Regions from separate parts of the Homo sapiens genome. Here all the other regions are linked to region 3. Evidence: promoter capture Hi-C in human tissues and cell types (Jung and others, 2019). All regions are on one chromosome and are shown on one strand. Each heading gives the region's core, a stretch centred on a gene start or on the middle of the fragment in contact. The rest is flanking DNA. Distances are from core to core; before and after follow the strand shown.

Region 1 (2,700 bases), core at 107-2,606, 62 kb before region 3:
AAGCAGACCAATAAAACTATTCAGTTGCAAACACACGTTACCTTTCATGAAAAAAGGATGACTCAGAGGGTAGAACCAAGAATCCGATGGGTGGAGCCAAGTGCTACAAAGAATTATTCTCAAGCCTTGAAATCTAAAAAAGAAACTCCCAATATTTGCTTGATTGGATTTCAGAATTTCTACTCACAAGTCACTTATTTATATCTTTTATTTTGGCTCCTTTTGAATGGGAATGTTTATAGCTGTTATAATAGATCTATACCACCATTCTATGTTGGGTGTGGGGAGTGGGGACCAGATAACTTGCCTCTCATGGGAAACAGAACTTAATCTAATCTTCTGAGGAATGTTGATGGATATGACTAACCATATGTACTGTTAAGTAGACACAGTGCTCAAGATAACCCTAAGCAGTACTGATAGAGAATTATGAAAACAGGACATCAAGCCAGGCAATGGTGACTCATACCTGTAAACCCGGCATTTTGAAAGGCTGAAGTGGGCAGATCACTTGAACCCAGGAGTTGAGACCAGCCTGGGCAACATAGCAAAACCCCATCTCTACCAAAATAAAAACTAAAAAACAAAAATTAGCTGGGCTTGGTGATGTGTGCCTGTAGTCCCAGCTTACTAGGGAGGCTGAGGTGGGAGGATTGCTTGAACCCAGGAGGTTGAGGCTGCAGTGAGCCATGATCATGCCACTGCACTCCAGCCTGGGTGGCAGAGTGAGACCCTGTCTCCGAAAAAGGAAATAGGACATTAGAGTAAGCTTAATGTAACTACTGATGCTTGTTGAATAACTGATGAGTATTTACAAAGGTAGAGATGAGGTATAACAATTGTAGATTTAATTCTAGATAGGTAGAGCTGAAAATTCCCTAGAAATTTATAGCCACTCATGACTACCTGCATGCATGCATTTTGGATGTTTTTTGTGGATGCATGCGCTTTTGCTTGATAGTGAATTTAGCTAATTCTGTATTTATGAACTGGCATACTTTTGTGGATCTTGATTTCTTTTTCCCCCAACTTCTAGTTTTATAGACTCACAGATGGAGAGGAACCAGATCTAAAGAGCCTCACCTGCACCTGGATCTTATTTAGATTTTGAAATTCTGAATTCAAGCACACATTGCAGTGGGATGAGACTCTTAGGAACCTTAAGAGGGGTGAATATATTTTCATGTGGGAGAGGCATGAATCACTGGGAATCAGGGCAGACTGTGGCATATTGATTCTAAAAATGACCTCCGTAATCCCTGCCTCCTGGATTTAATCCCTTCCCTTGAGTGTAGGTGGGACCTGCGACTTGATTCAATCCACAGAATACAGCCTGCATGACAGAATATGTGTGATTACATGTAAGTGATTACATTACATATGATTGTAACATCAATCTTTCCAGGAGACTCTACTTTGCTGGCTTTGAGAAAACAAATGATTCTGGAAAGATTAATATGGCAAGGACCTAAGGAACTCCTTCAGCTAATACCCAGCAAGAAACAGAGGCCTTTAGTCCAATGGTCCACAAAGAAACAAATGCTACTAACAACCACATGAGCTCGGAAGCAGATCCTTCCCCAGTCGAGTCTCAGAAAAGCCTGCAGCCCAGATGACATCTTGATCACAATTTTGTGAGGCCCTAAGACAGAGGACTCAGTCTAGTTGTGTCTGGAATCCTGAACCTCAGAAACTGTGAAATAATAAGTTTATGTTGTTTTAAGCCAGCAAGTTTGTGATAATATTGTTACACAGCAAAAGAAAAAACTAATATAAAGTTTAACAATGCCTCGAGTGTTTACTGATCCTGTGACAAGGAAAGTAAGAAGAAACAGAACAGAAGACTTTGTCCATGATCCTTACTGGAATTGTTAACTTGCCTGCTTCTACACTGCCAACCACAGGAGTAGAGACAGCTTTAGCTTTCATTACATGAAAAGTACTGCCAACTTGGGTAATTCAATATAAGACCAGAGCCTTCAGGGAGCCAACAAAGAAAAATACATCTTATTTAAGGAGAACGACCAGTCAAAAAGAAGAATATAAGTCAAAACTAACAGAACATTTATTAATCAGGATAGAGTAGCTGAAAAAGATAGACAACATCTTGAATTGTAAAAAATAGTAAAAGTGAGCTAGGCATGGTGGCTTTTGCCTGTAATCAGCTACTTGGGGGCTGAGGTGGGAGGATCACTAGAGGCCAGGAGTTCAAGACCAGCCTGGACAACATAGAAAGACCCAGTCTCTGCAAAAATTTTTAAAAATTAGCCAGACGTGGTGGAGTGTGCCTGTGGTTCTAGCTACTCAGGAGGCTAAGGCAGGAGGATCCCTGGAGCTCAAGAGTTCGAAGCTGCAGTAAGCTATAATCACACTACTGTACTCCAGCCTGGGTGAGTGAGCAAACCCCAACTCTTAAAAAAAATAGTCAAAGAAGCCTCACTTTTAGTAATGGTGCAATAGCTTGATTGAACTTACTCTCTTGCAGATAAAAAATAGTAAAATCTTCACAAAATATAAAAAACTTAAGGTACTAAAGAATGACCCAAAGCAGTCAAACAGCGGTGAGAAGTGACCCTTGCACCAGTAAAGATCTTTTATTGTGATCTCAGATTTTTTTCTCATTTATTAATTCACTGCAAGAAGCCAGCTAGTCTCTGCTAAACCTCTAGGACTGGAGTTTGTTCATTCCCTCCCATGTCC
Region 2 (2,700 bases), core at 39-2,538, 64 kb after region 3:
TGTGGAGTCTCAGTTTTCAGAAAAGTAGCATGTAGTGAAGTACTTTAGACACTTTAAAAATGAGGCTGCTCTGGATGTTATGAAATCCTTCTTTGATTCAGAAGGCACCTCAGAGACCTGCAGGGCTCAGCCTAATTGTTTGAGCATCGGGTAATCTTTTGTAGACACATGCTAATACGATTAACAGAATATCAGAGAATAGTCTGTTCTTATGGAACGCCTACTTACACTTTCAGTGAATTTTTTAATTAGTCTATGATAATGCTTGCTTCTCTTTATTCTTTAGAGAATGGAGAAATTGCTAGAAACCATTGATCAGCTTCACCTGGAGTTTGCCAAGAGGGCTGCTCCTTTCAACAATTGGATGGAGGGCGCTATGGAGGATCTGCAAGATATGTTCATTGTCCACAGCATTGAGGAGATCCAGGTAATGGAACCGCAACTCTGTATGCCCTATGCATTAGAAGTGAGTTGTCATTTAAACTTAAGAGTCCTGTTATTTGGTTTCTTGTTTTCTTGCTTTAAAAAAAAATTAACAAATGTGGCTAGAAAGCCCAAATTACCCTTGAACCTTAGCTTAAAAATGTGTTTAGTACTCTGTGTTGCAAACCCGTTAAAATCAATCAAGTAATGGTGAATGTGTCTCAGAAGCTCTGTTCTTTAAAAAAGAATGCTGAGGCTGGGCGCAGTGGTTCATGCTTATAATTCCAGCACTTGGGGAGGCTGAGGCGGGTGGATTGCTTGAGCTCAGGTGTTCGAGACCAGCCTGGCCAATGTGGCAAAACCCCGTCTCTACAAAAAATACAAAAAAAAATTAGCTGGGTGTGGTGGTGCACGCCTGGAGTCCCAGCTACTGGGAAGGCTGAGGTGGGAGGATCGCTTGAGCCTGGGAGGCAGAGGTTGCAGTGAGCCAAGATCACGCCATTGGACTCCATCCTGGGTAACAGAGTGAGACCCTGTCTCAACAACAACAACAACAACAACGACAACTACAACTACAACAACTGCTGCATCATTGAGCAAAATAAACATATGTGCTCTTGGAGTTATTCATGAAAAAGTTGTAAGTGTACTAGCTGCTGAGTTAACTACTTTGCAAACGTGTGCATATTACTGTTTATTTAGATCTACAGAGTTTTTTGCCAGATTGTAAACCATAAGAAGCCACAAATCAGCACCTACCTTTTGCCTACTGCCAATCTAAAATGTTCTGCTTATAGTTTTTTCTGGAACTTCAGAACTATAAACAAAGCTTCTAAGTGGTGACGTTAGGGAGGAAAGTTAATCTCGGTTAGCCAGGACATAATTTATTTAGAGAATTTGTACAGTGAATTTGATGTATAATAGAATAAAAAGAGAAAATACTTTTTACTCTTTTTTTTCTGTAAAATAGATATGTCATCAAAAAGAATCCAAGTAGAAAGGAAATCCTGAAGGTTGGGATTTGAAACCACACCTCCCTACCAGGAGCCGTCTAGAAGGGTTTGCACCTGCACGCCAGGGGAAAGAAAGTGCTTCCATGAACATTGGAGTTGCCTTTTGAAAGAGGCTCCGATGGTGTTTCCTGCGTGCACTCTTAAGCACAGGCCAACAGTCTAAAATCGTTTATTTTTGGAATAAGTGAGACCTCTAAGCACGCCTTGGAAGTCACACTCTTTGTCAAAGCTCTGTTGGCAGCTGACCTGTTGCTGCACCTAAAGAGAACAGTAGCTTCACACTCAAAGGTGCTCCACGAGGCAGTGAGGTCTTTGAGCCGCTGAATTTGTGGGGCTGCTCATGTTCAGGTCAAAGAATAGGTTTGATAAATGGCTCTTTAGAGAGCCTTCTGGGAAGAGTTGGTTTCTGTGACCTTTTCTTTTTGAGGAATAGGGATGTACTTCCTGGTTTTCTTTAGATATAATGGTAGCAAATGTTAGATGCTTTTGTAGGACTGCAAAGGTAACACTGGCCATTAGAAAGGGCATCTAAGGGCTGAGCATGGTGGCTCATACCTGTAATCCCAACACTTTGGGAGGCCAGGCGGGGAGGATCACTTGAGGCCAGGAGTTTGAGACCAACCTGGGCAACATAATGAGACCCTGTCTCTGCAAAAGATAAAAAAATTAGCCAGGCATCATGATGTATGCCCTATAGTCCCAGCTACTCAGGAGACTGAGGCAGGAGGATTACTTGAGCCCAAGTGTTCAAGGCTGCAGTGAGCCATGATTGCACCACTGCACTCCAGCCTGAGTGACCTAGCGAGACCCTGTCTCAAAAAAAAAAAAAAAAAAAAAAAAAAGGAAGTGCCGCTAAGTTAAGTTCTGCTCGTCAGCAGAAAATAAGAAAGACCTAAACAATAGCTGGTGATCAAAATCAGTGAAAGGAAAACTGATTAAAAAAAATTATTTTTTAAAAGACTCTACATGAATAGCCACCAATATTATTAATAGTCATCATGACATCCTTTTTCCATTTTCCAGGAACTTGACTTCTGTGTACCTAAAGAGTTTTTTCTAAAGCATTCAGAATGTGTTTTTCTCCAGAGACTCTTGCAATCATCAAGGCATTTACTTGTGTGCGGAAAGGAATATCAAAGCCTTTGAAATTAACACTCAAGCCACATTGTTTTTCTCCACTTGTGTCTCGGGTGTAGAGTCTGATCACTGCGCATGAGCAGTTCAAGGCCACGCTGCCCGAGGCGGACGGAGAGCGGCAGTCCAT
Region 3 (2,700 bases), core at 120-2,619:
AATTCTGTAGCATCTGTGGGCAACGTTTATTCAATTGAGATATAAACTGAATTGCAGGCAGGCATCCCATCAGCTCGTCTGGTGCCTAAGGCAACCTCTGGTTTACAGTAGTTGCTTAATACATATTTGATTTAAAAATTTCAGCCTACTTGTCCCAAGGGTCCTCATTTTGCTTCCTGCGGCAGCATAACTGATAGGGAACAGCTAGCCAGCACTAGGGGGATGAAAAGGCGTTAAGTGCAACCCACAGGGCGACATGGAAATATAACACGAAGCTGGCCGCTTGCCCTTCATTGTCAGCTCTCTTAAATTTATGCCCGGTAGGTGAGAGCTGACACTTCCTGCCTTTGGTTTGGTTCCTAACATTTTAATAGGATGGATCCAAATCCTGTGCCTTGATTTCCCCAGGTGAGGGTGAGGAGGAGAGAAAGAAGAGGGGGGTTCTGTAGCTTTTAAACTTTACTCCTTAGGGGCCTGTATGTATGTATGTGTGTGTGTGTGTGAGAGGGAGGAAGAGAAACAGAGAGAGAGAAGAGAGAGACAGAGATGAGAGAGGTATGAGAGACACAGGAGAGAGAGACAGATGAGAGAGAGAAAGAGAGACACGACAGAGAGAGAGAGACGAGAGAGAGAGAGACACGGGAGAGAGAGACAGAGGAGAGAAGAGGAGAGGAGAGAGACACGAGAGACAGATGAGAGACAGTGAGACACGAGAGAGAGAGAGAGATGAGAGGAGAGAGAGACATGTGAGAGAGACACAGGAGAGACAGAGATGAGAGAGAGATATGAGAGAGATCTATGAGAGAGAGACACTGGAGAAAGAGGGACAGAGATGAGAGAGAGACAGACGAGAGACAGACACAAGAGAGAGGGACCGATGAGCGGAAAGAGAGGCACGAGAGAGAGATGAGAGAGAGAGAAGAGGGGTCTCCAATGAATATGTGGGAATATATGGAAAACGCGAATATCCAAATGATATTTGGAAAACTTGGCTGTGTTGGGGTGGTCAGGGACCCAGCCTCTTAGGTGTCCCTCCCCTGGCTCGCGATCACCCACCCGGGACACCGACGGACCCCGCGCCGCTAACCAGCCGCTCTCAGAGCGTGGGTGGCAGGCGTGGCTCTGCTCGGGGCCGGCCGCTCCCCTCACGTTCCCGGAGGCCTCGGCGGAAGGCGTGCAGGCGGCCTCTGGGCGGCGGCTGCAGGGGAGACAGTGGAGGGGCCCGGCGCCCTTGTCCGCCCGCACGTGCTCGGGGCGGGGCGGCTGGGGCCCGACGGGCGGGGCCGGGGGCGGTGGCGGCGGGGGCGTGGCCGGGCGGCCACGTGACGGGCGGCGCGGCTATTAAGCCGCGCGGCAGCTGCTCGCAGCCGGAGCTGGTGCTTCGCCCGAGACCCAGCGCCCAGGCGTGTCGCCCCGAGAGGAGCCGCGCGAAGGTCACCCCGCGCCCGCCGCCCGCCGCCCGCCGCCTCCGTGGGTCCGTTTGCCAGTCAGCCCGTGCGTCCGAGCCCCTCGCGCCCCGCCGCAGCCCCGGCCAACCGAGCGCCATGAACCAGATAGAGCCCGGCGTGCAGTACAACTACGTGTACGACGAGGATGAGTACATGATCCAGGAGGAGGAGTGGGACCGCGACCTGCTCCTGGACCCAGCCTGGGAGAAGCAGCAGAGGAAGGTCAGCAGGGGCCCGCGGGCCGCCCGCGCGTGGTGGGGCCGGGTCCCCCGCGGGGCTCCCGTGCGCGTGGCCGCGTGGCCTGGCGACTGGCGAGAGGGCGCTTTGTGGAGGTGCTGTGCTGTCCTGTGCCCTCGCAGCCCCGGGGGCCCCTTAGGAAAGAGGACACGTCCGGGGACAGGCAGGACACTGGGCGTCGTGTGTGTGCGCGCGCGCTAGCAGCATCGGAGGTACAGATGTGGTTCTGTTCCTCACACCAACCCGCGTTAGACCAGATCTGAAGGGGTCTCTGGTCTGCTCCTGACCCCTTGAGTCTGTGACCTTGGCCCCCGAGTTATACTCTCCTGGCCCGCTTGTGTCCATTTACCCCAGCCTCTCTCTTCCCCATTGAAAGAAGCAAAAGAACATCAGCTTCATTGCAATTTCCACCGGGCTGCCCCTAGAGTCATGGAAAGTCATTTATTCAATCTTTTGGGTTCCTTGGAGAGGGATGTTGTATGAACACTAGACATTTACCGATAGTGACAATTATTTCACACTCTATTTATAATTCATTGAGGTAAGCACACAGGGACGAAGGAGTCAGCCAGCTTCTAAAAGCTCCCTCCCCATTTTGATTGGCGTTCTCTGGGGGCCCAGTGGAACATTCCACTTTTTCAAGGTTTCCTCTTGATCCTCTTGGCTGGAATAAATAGGGAATGCTCACCAGGAGGCTTAATCCCGCCTCTTACTTGACTAGGCAGGGAGCCTGGTTGGGTCAGACATGACAACAGAGACCTGCCAACCCAACCTTAAGATAACGGGGTTATGGCAAAAGCCAAACGCTCTGAACTTTTTTCCGCCTATTTTTCTGGGCGTGGGGCAAGATAGATTTCCCTTCTAAGGACCTGCTTTAGGTGGATAGCCTGTGGTGACCATAGTGTGTATGGGAATCTCTGTATAATGGGTACTGTAGCTGATTGTGCGATAGTATTTGGTGAATAGGGGTATGATGGTGGAGAACACACATCCCAAACTCCTCTCGCAGCAAACA

The links. The method cuts DNA at HindIII sites, captures the fragments that hold promoters and counts their contacts. A contact is called where the count stands out against the background at its distance.
Region 1: a fragment that was not itself captured here is called in contact with the fragment with the promoter of ACTN2 in region 3 in 1 of the 25 tissues and cell types used here (adrenal gland).
Region 2: a fragment that was not itself captured here is called in contact with the fragment with the promoter of ACTN2 in region 3 in 2 of the 25 tissues and cell types used here (bladder and neural progenitor cells).

The regions. Positions count from the first base shown.
Region 1 is chr1:236,623,544-236,626,243 of GRCh38, forward strand. No RefSeq gene overlaps it. Among named protein-coding and RNA genes, the nearest start is that of HEATR1, 20 kb to the left of the region's middle. The HindIII fragment of the contact is 4,072 bases long and covers 1-2,700 here.
Region 2 is chr1:236,748,838-236,751,537 of GRCh38, forward strand. It overlaps ACTN2 (actinin alpha 2), which reads left to right. Exons shown (of 21, transcript NM_001103.4): 14 at 287-427; 15 at 2,633-2,700. Among named protein-coding and RNA genes, the nearest start is that of MTR, 45 kb to the right of the region's middle. The HindIII fragment of the contact is 7,634 bases long and covers 1-2,700 here.
Region 3 is chr1:236,685,130-236,687,829 of GRCh38, forward strand. ACTN2 (actinin alpha 2) reads left to right here and starts at 1,370. Exons shown (of 21, transcript NM_001103.4): 1 at 1,370-1,670. The coding sequence starts at 1,545. RefSeq lists a silencer at 1,226-1,315. The HindIII fragment of the contact is 16,282 bases long and covers 1-2,700 here.